Linked DNA regions of Homo sapiens: region 2 is linked to region 1. The links are contacts of gene promoters, found by promoter capture Hi-C in blood cells and fetal thymus (Javierre and others, 2016). All regions are on one chromosome and are shown on one strand. The core of a region is centred on a gene start or on the middle of the fragment in contact, and the rest is flanking DNA. Distances in the headings are between cores, read along the strand shown. Region 1 holds the start of CNOT6 (CCR4-NOT transcription complex subunit 6). Region 2 holds the start of MGAT1 (alpha-1,3-mannosyl-glycoprotein 2-beta-N-acetylglucosaminyltransferase).

The links. Contacts are between HindIII fragments. The CHiCAGO score rates a contact against its expected background, and 5 or more counts as called.
Region 2: a contact is called between a fragment that was not itself captured here and the fragment with the promoter of CNOT6 in region 1, in 1 of 17 cell types (fetal thymus). The highest score is 6.3, in fetal thymus.

Annotation. Positions count from the first base shown.
Region 1 is chr5:180,490,601-180,497,999 of GRCh38, forward strand. CNOT6 (CCR4-NOT transcription complex subunit 6) reads left to right here and starts at 3,779. Exons shown (of 12, transcript NM_001370472.1): 1 at 3,779-4,163. RefSeq lists silencers at 3,519-3,718, 3,849-3,988, 4,159-4,258, 4,289-4,548. The HindIII fragment of the contact is 20,633 bases long and covers 1-7,399 here.
Region 2 is chr5:180,797,809-180,805,191 of GRCh38, forward strand. MGAT1 (alpha-1,3-mannosyl-glycoprotein 2-beta-N-acetylglucosaminyltransferase) reads right to left here and starts at 4,998. Exons shown (of 2, transcript NM_002406.4): 1 at 4,872-4,998. RefSeq lists enhancers at 1-198, 4,310-5,017, 5,018-5,724, 5,868-5,977, 6,432-7,137 and silencers at 4,828-5,187, 5,358-5,437, 5,448-5,497. The HindIII fragment of the contact is 1,346 bases long and covers 4,298-5,643 here.

The DNA.
Region 1 (7,399 bases), core at 2,529-5,028:
GGGAGGCAGATTTGGTTTCTTCTTGTCTCCACATCCAGTGGCCCTAGGATTCAAACCTCCTCTGCTGCAGCCTGGTGTCTTGGCGCATTGACTTGCTGTGCACATCGGATGATGACCCTATTCTGGTGACGCATCCCTCTGTGCAACGCATTTACTGGTCAAATTAGAATTATTTTGGTTGTAAGCTACAGAAGCCAAACTCAAACTTAAGCGAAAAAAAAAAAGTATTGGTTTGTATACCTGGAATAGGTTCTGGTATAGGTCACGAGCTAAAGGAAAAAACTACTGAAACAAGTTGTCAGGCCCTTGCTCTGAGACTCCACATCTTCACCAGTGTCTCATCTCTCCATGTGGTGGGGAAGATGGCACTGGCTGCCACCAATTCATGCTGTCCTCGCTTAGCACGTATCAATCCCAGACTGGTCCTGCTTTGGTACTGCCTGACTGCAGTAGAAACAAGGCCCAGGCCAGGCCAGTGAGAGCCTGCCCTGGGTCTTTGGCTGGAATCATTAGGAAAGAAGCACCTTCTCTAAGCGGAGAAGCTGGTAGAATCTAAGCCTGCAGGTGTTGGTGGCATCTTTCCCGCTTGTGAGGCCTGCAGAGAGAACAGGATGGAGGGTGGGAGGTGAGATCGATTCTTGATGCCACCTTACAATGCCTGAATGGTTCAGCATTCCCTCTTTCAATTCAATTCCCTCCTTCTTGCAAAGAAATATTGAGTTGTGAGTTTTATAACTTGCAATGGGAGGTCTGGCCTAACATGAGGGGCACTTTGATCTGGCCTGAAAGGGTGAGTAGGTATTTTGCGGGGTTCTCCTCGGATATGCAGAAAGAAAAGGGCATGCACAGCAGAGCCACTATCGTACCCTCCTGGTGGCAGCAAGTCTCCCCAGAGGGCTCCAATTAGTCCACCCCGCCCTGCATGCACGCGCAGCTCCTCCACAGCTTATGTCCTCTCCTCTTGAATCTGGCTTGGGCTTGTGCCTGCTTTAATTCATAGAATATTGAGGAAGTGGCCTTCTTCAGAAGGCCTGGCAGCTTCGCTTTCCTCTTGGAGCCCCTGGTTGTCATGTAGGAAGTGCAGGATCACCTCCTGCTGGGGAAAGGGGCCACACACAAAGGCTGAAGGATGAGACACTGCGGGGGAGGCCTCGTTAGGGGGCAGCGAGGTGCCAGACATTCAACACCCAGCTGCCACCTTTGGTATAGGCATGAGGCCCCAAGGGTGAACATCAGAATCATGAGATACAGTAAAACTGTTGCTTTATGCTACCAAGATTTTGTGCAACAAGACCTCCCCTCCTCCATACAGTCGTGCCAGTCACAAGGGAATTGCTCCCTCTGTTTTTTGTTTTGTTTTGTTTGAGTTTTTTTTTTTTTTTTTTTGAGACAGTCTTGCTCTGTTGCCCAGGCTGGAGTGCCATGGCGCAACCTTAGCTCACTGCAACCTCTGCCTCCTGGATTCAAGCGATTCTCATGCCTCAGCCTCCTAAGTAGCTGGGATTACAGGTGCCCGCCACTGCACCCAGCTAATTTTTTTTTTTTTTTTTGTATTTTTAGTAGAGACGGGGTTTTGCCATGTTGGCCAGGCTGGTCTCGAACTCCTGGCCTCAAGTCATCTGCCCGCCTCGGCCTCCCAAAGTGCTGGGATTACAGGCGTTGAGTCCCCGCACCGGGCTGAGGTAGCTGCCTCTGGCCAAATTACAAAAAGGCACCCAGGCTGGAGCACAGACGGCCAGGGCACTCACACAGGGAGGAGAGGCCCTGCAGGGTGTCTGTCCCATTGGCCCCTCAGCCTGGGATACTCTGTACAGCACAGGGCCGCACAACTCCCTGCTGTACAGGAGGAGGTTGTGGAGGGATGGCCACAGGCAGCTTACTGGTCTACATGTGTTCTTCCTGACTCCTAAACTTCTGCACTGCTCTGTCTTTGCCCAGTGTCCTATGGCGCTAGAGGCCTGGGCTGTCACTCCTGATGTCATGGCAGTGCCAAGCGATGACCATCCCAAGGCCGTGCTGGGGAGAGGGGGATCATCTTCACCTCTGAACAGCTTTTGTCCCTCATCCTTTCCTTGCCCTTCCAGCCAGGTCTCCTCCACCCCAGGCAACAGCAACCCATTTCCCACATCCCCAGCTCTCAACAGCCTTCACTGAAGCAGAAGCCTCGGTTTGTTGCTACTGTTAGTTCCTGGAACCTGTCTCACTCTCATTTCTTCAGGGTTGATTTTCCAGGAAGCAGTTAGCAGCCTATCCTAGTTTGCCACATAGGTGGGCAGGCAGCTTTCCTTTTCCTTCACGCCTTCAACATATAGCTCAAATTTTTTTTTTTTTTTTGAGACAGGGTTTCGCTCTTGCTGCCCAGGCCTGAGTGCAATGGTGCGATCTCCGCTTACTACAACCTCCGCCTCCCAGGTTCAAATGATTCTCCTGCCTGCCTCAGCCTCCCGAGTAGCTGGGATTACAGGTGCAAGCCACCAGACCTGGCTAATTTTTTGTACTTTTAGTAGGGACGAAGTTTCGCCATGTTGGTCAGGCTGTTTTCCAACTCCGGACCTCAGGTGATCTGCCCCCCTCGGCCTCCCAAAGTGCTGGGATTACAGGCGTGAGCCACCGCGCCCGACCAATATACCTCCAATATTAAGTCTGTTGGGTGTTATTCTTGCCCCTAGACTGTGAGCTTACTCAGGGCTGGGTGGGGTCTGATTCATCTCTGTGCCCTGACCATCAGTCAACTAATATTTCTTGATGTAAGCATCATGAATCAGCCCAGTCATTTCTCTGCTGACCTTCAAACACCAGAGTTTGCCCTGAACACCTTTTGATCTTGGAGCACAGCAGCTGCTGTCCGTTACCCAGGCTAGGACCCCAGCACCAAAACTGTCCATTAATGTAATGGAATGAATTACCATTAATAGGCTGAAGTGGTATGTTAACTTACTCTTCTTTGTATAATTGAGGAAGGAATAATATTCGACTGTTCACGATTGAATGTCTTGTCTTTAGGCAGATCAAGATACTGGCTCCGGTCAAATACTGTGTTTCGACGTGATTGACAGGCGAAGGCTTAAGGAAAAGGAAGAGGAGAAAAAAAGGGGAGGACGATCAAGGAAAAGAGGAGATAAAAGTGGACAACCCAGCCGGGCGCGGTGGCTCACGCCTGCCATCCCAGCACTTTGGGAGGCGGAGGTGGGCGGATCACGAGGTCAGGAGATGGAGACCATCCTGGCTAACACGGTGAAACCCCGTCTCTACTAAAAATACAAAAAATGAGCCGGGCGCGGTGGCGGGCGCCTGTAGTCCCAGCTACTCGGGAGGCTGAGGCAGGAGAATGGTGTGAACCCGGGAGGCGGAGCTTGCAGTGAGCCAAGATCGCCCCACTGCACTCTGGCCTGGGTGAAAGAGCAAGACACCGTCTCAAAAAACAAAAAAAAAGTGGACAACCTGGGGCGGAAAAAGAAGTAGATGAAAAATGGAGGAGCGCTAAGGAGAGGAGAAAACAGAAGTGCCAAGGCAGGAAAGGAGCGAGGAGAGCGGGAACAGAAGGAGACGAAGGATGGACGGAGAGGAAGGGATGGAGGGCGGCAGGCAGGGAGGCAGGGCCCGCAGCGCGCCGGGCCGGTCCACCGCTCTCCAGCGCGGGGGTAAGGGGGCGGGGCCTGGGCAGCTGCGTGCCGGGAGCGACCCCCGCACCGAAGGGCGGATGGTTGTGCCCGGCGACGGCGCCCAATGAGCGGCCAGGATGTTGGAGCGCCGGCGGCGGTCCGGGCGCTCGCTGGCTGAGGGACGGCGGCCGCCGCCATGATGCTTGTTTGCTTTCAATGAAAACGAGGGGGGCGCGGAGGAGGAGGCGGCGGCGTCGGTGGCGGCGGCGACGGCGGCGCGGAGGCGAAGGCAGCGGCGGGCGCAGCGAGGAGGGCGAGGCCGGGGGCCGAGAGGGCGGGAGGGCGTAGTGGCGGCCCGTCGGGGCGGCTGAGGCGGGCAGCCGAAGCAGTGGCTCTCGGAGGGGGAACAAAGAGCAGCGACTAAGGCGGCAGAGGAGCGGCGGCGGTGGCGGCGCTGCAGCAGCGGGCGGGACTGGTATGGTGGTTCCACAGGGCAGACCCCGCTGCACTCACAGGGAGGAGGAGGCGGCAGCGGCGGAGGAAGGCGGCGCACCCCGAGAGGTGAGCGAGGCAGGCCGGAGGCCCGGTCGGGGCGCCGCTCCTCTCTCCGGCCGCGCACGGACCGCCCCCCGTCGGCCGGGCTCGGTCGCGGGCAACTTTCGTTTCGTGGGCGGCGGTCCCGCTGCTCCGCAAGCTGGCGGCTGTTGGGGGCCCCTTCGACGCGCCGCGATCGCGCCCCGCCCCGGGCCGCGCCCCCGGGCCGAGTCCCTGGGAGGGGGGCGTTGATTGACGGCGGCGGCGGCGGCGCGCAGAGGGGAGAGGGTCGGCGCTGGGCTCCCGGATCCCGGCCGGTCCCGGCTGCCGTCGTCGGAGGAGGCGAGTCCGTGTCCCGGGACTCGTGGCCAAGATGGGTGGCAACTTTTGAGAAGCGCCTCTGTGGGTGGCGCGCTGTGTGGAGTGTGGAGCTTCGCGCTCCGTGGCCACAATTACTGTCAAGCGGGAAACCAACTGCTTACCCCCTCCCCTAAAATGTTTTTAAAATTCAGTTTAACGCAGATTTTGAGGGAGAGGACGGGGTGGATTACAGGTTAAAGAAGCACTTGGCATGCAATGAGGATGCTTATTTTATAGTATTGCGAAGGATTCGGAGATTGTACTGGTTTCTACAAGCAGTTTTCTCTGGTAACCCAAATTGCATCCCTCCTTTTTGTTTTTCAGCACTAATCGCTATTTTCTTTGGAAACTTCCTTTGATTCTTTACCTCCTTCACCTTCCCCGAAGAGCCTGCTAACCAACACCTGTGGCCTTCTGTTTTTAACTGTTGTTGCCATTGACAGCGTTGTGAATGGTCATCTCGCTCGAGCTCTTTGGATTTGTTGTTACTGTGTAAGCTGATGTGTTTTAGATAATCTGCTTCAATTTGAGTTCCCATACTTACCTGTTTTCCAGGTGGATTGTCTCATTGTTAGTGCTGAATCTTCTTGCCTACTTGTATCTGGGAATTTAACTTTGAAGAGGAAGAGAGTGAATATGAATAACTGAAAAATAAAATGGTGTGTAGTAGCACTTTGTATTTTTTACAATATACTAGAATTTACTACTCTAGAACAGATTAGTAGGCTGTAGGAGTGGACGTGGGCCATTGATCAAAAGGGTTTAAAGGCTTTTTTGGGGAATTGCTGTTAAGACATTTATCACAGTCTTTATTTAATTTATTTATTGTTTTTGAGACAGGATCTCACTCTGTCACCCAGGCTGGAGTGCAGTGGCACAGTTCTCGGCTCACTGCAGCCTTCGCCTCCTGGGTTCAAGCGATCCTTTTGCCTCACCCTCCTGACTAGCTGGGACTACCGGCAGACACCACCACGGCTAATTTTTTAATTTTTTGTAGAGCCTTGCTCTGTTGCCCAGGCTGGTCTCCGACTCCAGGGCTCAAGCGATCTTCCTTCCTTGGCCTCCCAAAGTGCTGCAATTACAGGCATGAGCCAACATGCCTGGCCATCACAGTGTTTAGAATGTGATGACTTTTAGAGTAAAATTTAGAATAAAAATTGCTTAATATCTTTAGATCTGTGATCTACTCCAGGTGTTTTGCTTTAAACAAAATACATGAACAGCTGCTAATGAGAAGACAGACCTTTCTAGGTGGAGGTGACTTGCCCATGGTACTGTAATGAGGAGGGAAAGGACCGGGTTTGTGTGCGTGTGAGAGCGCATGAGTGTGCGACCTAATCGCTAGAGGTTTGTTCTTTTGGGAGGAGGGAGGGTATGTTAATGGTTGGAAGTTATTTCAGGTCACTTCTCAGTCGATGAACGAGATGCTGAACGAAATGATCAAAAAAGATGATGCAATTGCCAGGCATGGTGGCTCACCGTGTAATCCCAGCGCTTTGGGAGGTTGAGGAAGGAGGATGGCTTGAGCCCAGGTGTTTGAGACCAGCAAAACCCTGTCTCAGAAAAATATAAAGTAACATATATAAAGTCTGTGATAACTGTCACAACGTAGTGAGACCTTGTCTTGATCACTTTATAAAAACGGTGACGAAAGACAGATTTTCTTGTGAGACTGAAGATTTTCTCTGAAAGTCAATCATTAGGTAATTTCCATAGTGTCTTGATAGTGGTGATGCAGCCCAAGCGGCTCCTCTTGAATGCCTGTTCAATTTGTAGGTATTTTCAGGTTGCTTAAATGTTGTTGGCAAAGTAAAACTACAATTATTGGGAAATTTCAAACTTTTGAGCAGACATAAGGTTGGTTTATAGAACTTGGTCCTAACTACAAATGTGTAAAGGCGTTGTAGGAATTTGCCCACTGTACATGTAGTTTAAAAGTATGCATTTTATGCCAGGCGCGGTGACTCACGCCTGTAATCCCAGCACTTTCGGAGGCCGAGATGGGTGGATCACCTGAGGTCAGGAGTTCGAGGCAAGCCTGGCCAATATGATGAAACCCTGTCTCTACTAAAAATACAAAATTAGCCAGGTGTGGTGGCGCATGCCTGTAATCCCAGCTATTCAGTAGGCTGAGGTGGGAGAATGGCTTGAACCTGGGAGGCAGAGATTGCAGTGAGCCAGGATCACGCCACTGCACTTCACCCTGGGCAACGAGTGAAACTCCGTCTCAAAAAAAAAAAAAAAAAGTATGCATTTTGGTGAATGCTTAGACATTCCAGTACCTATATTTGCCTTCTTATATTCTTTAAATGATAAACCTTTTTCATAGTGCAACAGAAAAGGATAATATATGTAAGACATATTGGAATAAATGGTTAAGGCAGCTCACAGCTGTATTCTTTGGGCCGTTAGGGGTGAGGGATCAGTATGTTCAGCACCTTTAGAACCCATTCCCATATGCAAGGTCCACTGGCTTGGGAAGCTCTGCTTGAAAGCATTTATTACTTTGGAAAAGTCCTAATAGGCTCAGCTAAAAATGTATGTTTTACTGGGAAAACCAAAGACTTGGATATGTAGATATCTTTATACCCATTACTCATACAGTCATTTTATAACAAAAGTGTGATTAATAAAACGCTGTGTATGTGAAATTAAGAATTGCTGAGACTGGGCGCGGTGGCTCATGCCTTTAATCCCAGCACTTTGGGAGGCCGAGGCGGGCGGATCACTTGAGGTTAGGAGTTCGAGACCAGCCTGACCAAGATGGAGAAACCCTGTCTCTACTAAAAATACAAAATTAGCCAGGCGCAGTGGCACATGCCTGTAATCCCAGCTACTCGGGAGACTGAGGCAGGAGAATCGCTTGAACCTGGGAGGCAGAGCCTGCAGTGAGCCGAGAGCAC
Region 2 (7,383 bases), core at 3,721-6,220, 310 kb after region 1:
GAGGACATGACACCCCTAGTTCCAGCCCACCTCCTTAGGCTCAGCCTGGGCCCCAGTGCTATTTTCCTACTGTTTATCCACGTAGTTCCTGGGATAGGATCCTCAGCTCTGCCTGGAAGTTAGTGCTGTGTGCACACACATGAACCAGGAGCCATACACCCTCTCACAACTGGCTGTGCCCAAAAGGATGATCAAGCCCAGACCTTGGCCAGCAGCGGTGACCTGCTTCTCCAGGAAGCACTGCTCAGGCCACCATCAGGAGAGTGCAGCAGCAACAAAGGCAAGCCAGACAGCCCAGAGGCATCACCCTACGTTTTGCCACATTTCTGAGACTCAAACTGGGTTGCTGTGAAGATCGGATGAGATGAGCCATGTTAGGTGTTTAGAACAGTGCCGGCATGACAACGTAAATATCGGCCGTTATTTCACTCCTTTCTCCCCATTTTCTTTGCTCCACTCTACCACACTCCCGTCTGGTACCCCAACAGCCAAGCCTACCGTCGGGGTCTTTGCATGTGCCCATGTGCCAGCTCTGCTCTTCCCTATCTTCTTCACCTGGCACACTCTGATTCGTGTCTCTGCCAAGATGCCTTCCTTGACGCCTGGGACCATGTAAGGTCCACCTACCCTTCACCAACAGCAACAAGCGCAACCACTTGCTCAACTTCTCTCAGGCCCCCTCAGCTGCAAGCTACATGAAGACAGGGATTGGCTCCACCAGCACTGCCAAGCCGCTGTGCTAGGGCTCTCAACATTCAGCAGATGTGCCTGGGATCTAAAAACATCCACAGTTCCTCAACTGTAACTGCCAAATCCAAGAAGCACTAAAACACAGAAGTTTTCTAAACTCAATTGGCAGTAAAACCTCATCCAGCCTCATTTGGTAAAATCTGATCTGATCTAATATGGGGCTATTTATAGTCTTTTCTCTCTCCTGCTGTGGCTATTCATACATTTTGCTACAGAAATAAACATGGTGGCTTATGCCATGCTGCTTCTGATCTTCCACTACAGAGTAAATTCACCAGATCATCTTTTCAAAATCCAAAAAATTCTCAATTCTGAAATACATCTAGGACCAAGAACTTCAAAACTATGAAAATGGAAGTACAAAGTTACTCATTGACTGCTAGCATCCCATGTCAAGCCCTCCAGCCCTTTAACCTGAACTCATTCCTTCGTAGGAAACACTGTTTTAAGTCTGGACTCTTGATGTAGTTTCCCAGCTGGTCCACCTGTCACTAATCTTGCTTCCCTCTCACAAACCTTCCCAACAGCAACAGCGCATCCTTCCTGACAAGTACACCTGGTCACGACATTAACTTGCTTTAAAAACCATCAGAGGCTGCACTGCCCACAAACTCAAACTCAAACTCATTATGATGACATCCAAAGCCCTTCAGACAGACTGTCTGAAACATCCCTTTTCAACCTTACCTCCAACCACTAACCCCATGGACCCTGCACTCTGGCCTCAGCAGGCTGCTTTTTCCCCAGTAAGCATATACCTGGACGCTGCTGTGTCTCTGCTCCAGCTGGTCCCTCATCCTGGAATTTGACCCACAGCGCCACCTGCCAGCCACCCACACATCCTTTCAGGCCACTTCAGGTGACTCCTTCTGTAACATCACAGACAGAGCCAGGCCTCCCTATGACTACACTCCCACAGCACTCTCTCCACGCTGTAACAGAATCTGTGGCCACGCTGACCTGACTCCCACCTTCCTCCTTAGGAAAAAAGACTCTATGACCTCTGTGCCCACCACAGTGCTTGGCACATGTATGAGGTTCAAGTGGCTGGATGGAAGACTGCTTGCACTATTACCGAAATCAGGGAGAAAGATGGCCAACGCAGCAGCAAGAGAGTGAAGTGTGACATTTTCCAGAGATGACCGCACATATCCCATTCCATATGCTCTTCTTACAAGTGATAAAGACACTCCTGCCTCCAGAGCTGAGGGTCTATGTTCCCTCCCTTTGGTTCTGGGAAGAGATGCTATGTGACTTGTGAGACTAACTCATAAAAGGCAGTAGTTTCCACCTGGTCCTCTTAAGATGCTGACTCCTAGGACCCTGCTATATGGACAGGACACTGCTACATGGACAGGACCCCCATAGGTATTCCAACTGACCACCCCAGCTAAGGTCCCAGCTGACAGCCAGCATCAACCGCTAGACACAGGAGACAGCCCTCCAGATTATCCCAGCCCCAGCTGACTGCAATGGCGTGAAAGACCACAAGCAAGAACCACATAGCTGAGATGTTAATAAAATGATTCTGTTGTTGTAAGCCACTAAGTTCTGGGGTGACTCATTATGCAGCCATCAGTACCTGAAGCAATGAGAGAAACAGACTCTAGATAATCTTGACAAGCAGGGCAAGTGCCCTCCCTGCCCTCTGTGCTCAGCTCCAAGTCCAAACACTGAGGCCCTGTCTCCACTCATGTCTCCTTCCTTAGTAGGTATCTACTCCTGCATAATAAATTACCTCGATATTTAGTGGCTTAAAACAATAGTTATCACTTACTCCTCACAGTTTCTATTGGTCAGAAATGTGGACAGTGCAGCACAGAGGAGATGACGTGTCTCTGCTCCACTATGCCTGAGGCCTTGCTGAAAGACTCAAAAGCTGAGGGCCAGATGCCCCTAGAGGCTCTCACATTCTCTCACATGTCTGTAGGATGATGTTGGCAGCAGCTGAGACCTTATCAGCAGGAGTGCTCACTAGAACCCCTCTATGTGGCCTGGAAATGTCCTGGAAGTGGTGGCTGCATTCCAAAGGTGAGTGTTCCAAGAAAGCGGGCAAGCCAGGTGAAAGTGTATCCTGTTCCTGATTCAGCCTTGGATCAGGTCTGTCTTACTCACTGGTCAAGGGAACCACAAGTCCCTATTGACATGCAAGGGGAGAGAATCATAAACCCCACCACTAGGTGGGAAGTGGACAATGTCAAACTATAACTACATGTGGAAGGGGATACTTACGGGTGAGGCCCTTGAGGGAAAATACAATCTGCTACACCTTCCTTTTTAAATAGAACAACTGCCCTTAATCCTGACCTGAGTTCCTAATGATGTCATTTATGAGACTGGCATGCAAGGCACAGACTCAAAACTGGCTTTGACTTTCTAGAGTTTTCACAACTCCTTTAGGGAGGTGACACAGCCAATCCACACCACCAGGTACAAAGACATCTGCACCATGGTGGGAGATGAGAAGTGAGTCTTTTCAGTACAAAACCCTTCAGCTAAAACCGAGGTGGCTCTGGGTAGGCGCCACCTGCCCCTATGGGGCTCACTCAGTTTCTGAAGCATTTGAAGGACTGCCTAGGAGCTGTGAGATCCTTTCTAACACTCTGATACCATGGTGTTCTCCAGCCTATTTCCTTTATCTGGCAAAAAATGTTTCTTAAATAGCAAGTGAACACCAGATAGTCAACTTCCAATCATGAGCAATAAGCGAGAAGTTATATTTAGCTGTAAAATTAAGTACAGAAGTGGAAGAAATGGTAACAGATTTTCCCTTCTATCTCTGCTTTGCTTAAAGTTAAAAAGCACTACGTAAAAATTCCAGAAAATATAGACATGTCACAGGTAATGGAACTCTAACTGAACTGCTTTCATGTTCGTTCTTAGACCTTGGCTGGACTCCTGTATCATGTACCAGGCCCATAATTTCAGGACGGAAAAAAAAGAAAGGTAGTCAGAGAAGATACACTAAATAATTCAAGAGTTGAGAGAATAAGACCTAGGAGGGAAGGGATGCAGGTTATTCATCCTGGAAAAGAAGAGCTAAATACAAGTGCCACAAAAGGCATGAGGCCTGGGATTCAGGCGATCCAGCCAGCAAGCCAGGCAACTTTGGACAAGTCACTTGACCCACTTGTACCTTAGTTCTCTCATCTATAAGGTGACAGGGTTGATTTGGTTCATCACAAGGTCCCACTGCCTGGATACTGACGACAGTGACAATTTCCCTACTGCCCCGAACAGTAATGAGTTTCCCTTGTTAACACAGGCCACTGAGGTCAGGCATACCGCAGTGCTTCTAACAGTGAGAATGAGACACAGAAGCAGGGAAATGGGTGAGCTCAATGGTCCCCAGAATTGGGAAGGACCAGGACGCAGTGATTGCTGATGGAAGGCAGATCCTGGATGATGTGAGCACGTAAGAGCAAAGGCTACACGGCCTGAAAAAATACCGTAAATGACTGAAAATAAAGCTGGGCAACATCTCAGCCAGTGATGTTCTAAAACAAAACGGCAGACCCACTACAGCAGCAAGGGTTAACCAAAGTGAAGCTTCAGCCTTCAGGGAGCCGGCCAGCCACAGTCCCTCTACTTCAGAGTTTATCAGACGCGGGCACTGCACGTCCCGGGGCTCTCTACTCCACACACGTTAGCAAACAGGAAGAAAAGTTTTCTTGCCAACTTATTATATATATATTTCAACACTGAATCAACATTTCCTTTCTGCTGAGGAGAATCAGCCTCTATTAACTTGGGGAAAGGATGCTGGAGTGAGGTTAGGGGGGAAAGGCCACTCCCCAATCCCACCCCCTCCCTGCCCCGCACGCACGGACGCCCGGGGCCGAGTTTCACAACATCCTCCCCAGTCCGCGGAGCCCGCCCTTCCTCTAACAGCTGGAGGCCCGGGATTCCGAAAGCAGAAGGCGGAGTTCCAACCTCTCGGCTCGGGAAGGGACTAACGCGCAGCTGGCACCGGGTCGGACCGGGCCGCTCCCCAGCCAAGCCCCCTCTCGCTAGCACTCATGGGCACCGGGGCTTTGGGGCGACCCGACGTCCCTTGGGCTCCCTCTCGGCGCCCGCGAGGCCTCCCCCGGTCTGACCTCCGTCCCCGGACACCTACTCACCAGGTCCTCCCGACGTCCTGGCCCCGAACTTGGCCTGCTCCGGGGCGCAGGGAGCGAGCCCGGTGCCCAGGCGCGTCCCAAGCGCTGCCGCGGCCGCCTCGCCTTTCGACTCGCCAGCCCTTTCTGCGGCGCGCCGGGGCCGGACGGCCGGGCGGGCAACGTGGCCCTTCCCCGGCAGGCGGGGCGGGGCGGGGCGGACTGAGGGGCGTGACCGACAGCCCCGCCGCGCCCCGCCCCCCGGCCGGCGTCCGCCAGGCCCCCTCCTCCTGGCCCGCCTCCTTTCCCCGCCGCTTCTCAGTCAACCCAGGACCCAAGTTTTCCCAGGACCCCAACTTCGGGAGTCGGCTTTCCGGCTCCCTGGCGCAACCCTGAGGGTGGACGCCCGACCCCACCCCTGCCCTCGGCCCTCCAGCGCAGCTGCCCAGCCTGGAGCCGCGCCTGAAGTGGGCCCGCAGTCCAGGAAAGGCGTTCACCAAACCCTAGGCCAAGGGCTGGGAGCCAGTCCCCCCACCCCAACCCAGGGGAGGCTGAGGAGCCCGGGTGGGAGCCCCAGGGTCGCGTGGGGCAGGGACAGAACAGGAACCAGGGTGCCCGACGGGGGGCCGGGGGGAAACACCTGTGCCAAAGCAAGCCGGGGCCAGCTGTGGCTTCTTCCCTTTTGTTTTTCCTTGGTGGGTGGGGAATGAGAGCTTCAGTTCTGAGTAAAGAAAGCGAAGAGAGACCTACCAGCAGGGGAGGCCCACCAGCCCTAGGCGGGAAGGACTCGGTCACAAGCTTTGGCGGAAGCACCATGGAAAAGCCTAGAACGGGTCTGCGCCCGGCTGGTGTTTTAAAGGGGAGGAAGGTGCGGACCTGAAGAGGAGGTGGAGGTGGACCCAGGCCCACCGAGGGGAGGGAGGGACAGCTCTTCCATAGCAAATACCTGTCGCTGAGCCAGGAGTAAAGTCTGGCCGGGAGGAGGACAGACGCAGAAGACCAGGGGCTCCAGCGCACAGAGCCAGTTTCGCCAGCGATCAGGTCTGAGGCCTGGATTCCACGAGGCCGGTGCAAGCCAGGAGCCAGCCCCACTCCCTCGCCCAGCTCCCTCCGGCCTGGCCCTCTGCAGAAGCCTGATGCCCACCCAGCTGTCTCACCATGGGACCCCAGGCGGTGAGGGTGGGTAGCCGAGGACTACAGGCTGCTGGGTAGCTGACTTCCCCAAGAAGGGCTGCTGCCATGTGATCAGGACCCACGCCCCTGACATCAACCCCTCCCCCGTGTTCCAGAGCACGGAGCAGCCCGGAACTCTGCGGCCTGTGGTTACTGACTGACTGCTCACTAACTTGTTTCTACATGAAACCACGAATCGTGCAGGGTTCTAGAGAAACAAAGGGCCGCGCGCACCCGCAGGCCCCTGCGTGGAGGCGAGGACCTAAATCAAAACTGCTAAGGGGTCACCAGGCATGGTGAGGGGCCTCACGGGCCAAACCCTCCCTCGGCCTGTCCTTCAAGCCTCAGCAGCTCTGCGGAGTGAGCGTTATCATCCCCATTCTACAGATAACTAGTTTGAGGCTCAGGGTAAGTGCAAACGTGCTGCAAGCCACCAGACCTGGTGGGGAGCATAGCCAGGTTTTAGACCGGGCACTCCTGTGCGCCCCCCAACACCCCCGCACACATCCTCCAGCGCCAGTGCTTTGAGAGGGCTCTGTCTCCTCTCAGGCGCTGCCGTGAAGCCTCCGCTTAAGTGGCCAGAGCCCAGACCTGGAGGTGGAGTGGGAGAAGGGCAGGCCCACCGAGGCCGCCGTGTGCAGTGTGCGATGTGCGGGAAGCCCGTGGCTTCCACTTTAGCTGACTGCGCGCACTGTGGCAGGAGCCTCGAACCCAGGCGGATATGCCAGTCAGAGGCCAGTGTCTGTCACCTCTGCCCTATGTTTGCCTAATGGAGGAGTCAGGGGCCTGGGGGCTCTGCACACTCACACTAGGTGTCAAGGCGTAAAGGAAAAAACAATTGTGTTTCCTAAAAGTGAAAAGGCTGGGAAACACTGGTTTGTAGATCCAAGACATGAGGAGCCAAAATCACCTTCCAGGAGAAAGGACAGACATCAGGGGGTGCTGAAAGGTGGGGGAAGATCAGATTCCCACCACTGACCCTGATACTTCTCCATCTAAGGCAGGTGAAGGGGAAACAGGATGGCGGCTGTTCGTGCACTGTAACGCACACCCCATCTCTACCACCCTTGGCTGAAATCCCAAGGCTCACAGGAAGATCCAAAAGGAGAAATTCCCGGACTGCAAGAGACCATCCCAAAAAGAAAGGGCCTGGTTAGGGAATCAGAATGGGCTTCATGGAGGCAAAAGCAAGCACTTGGTCTGAGAGGCAAGAAACCAGGGTAAATGAGTGCCAAACTGACCTGGGGAAAAGAGGCTCTGAGCTCTTGATAGAGGTTACATGGGGAGCAGTGACTGGAGTAAGAAGGATAGAAACAAGGGGCCAGGATTCTGGGGGTGGGCCTGGGATTGGATTATGTGCAAA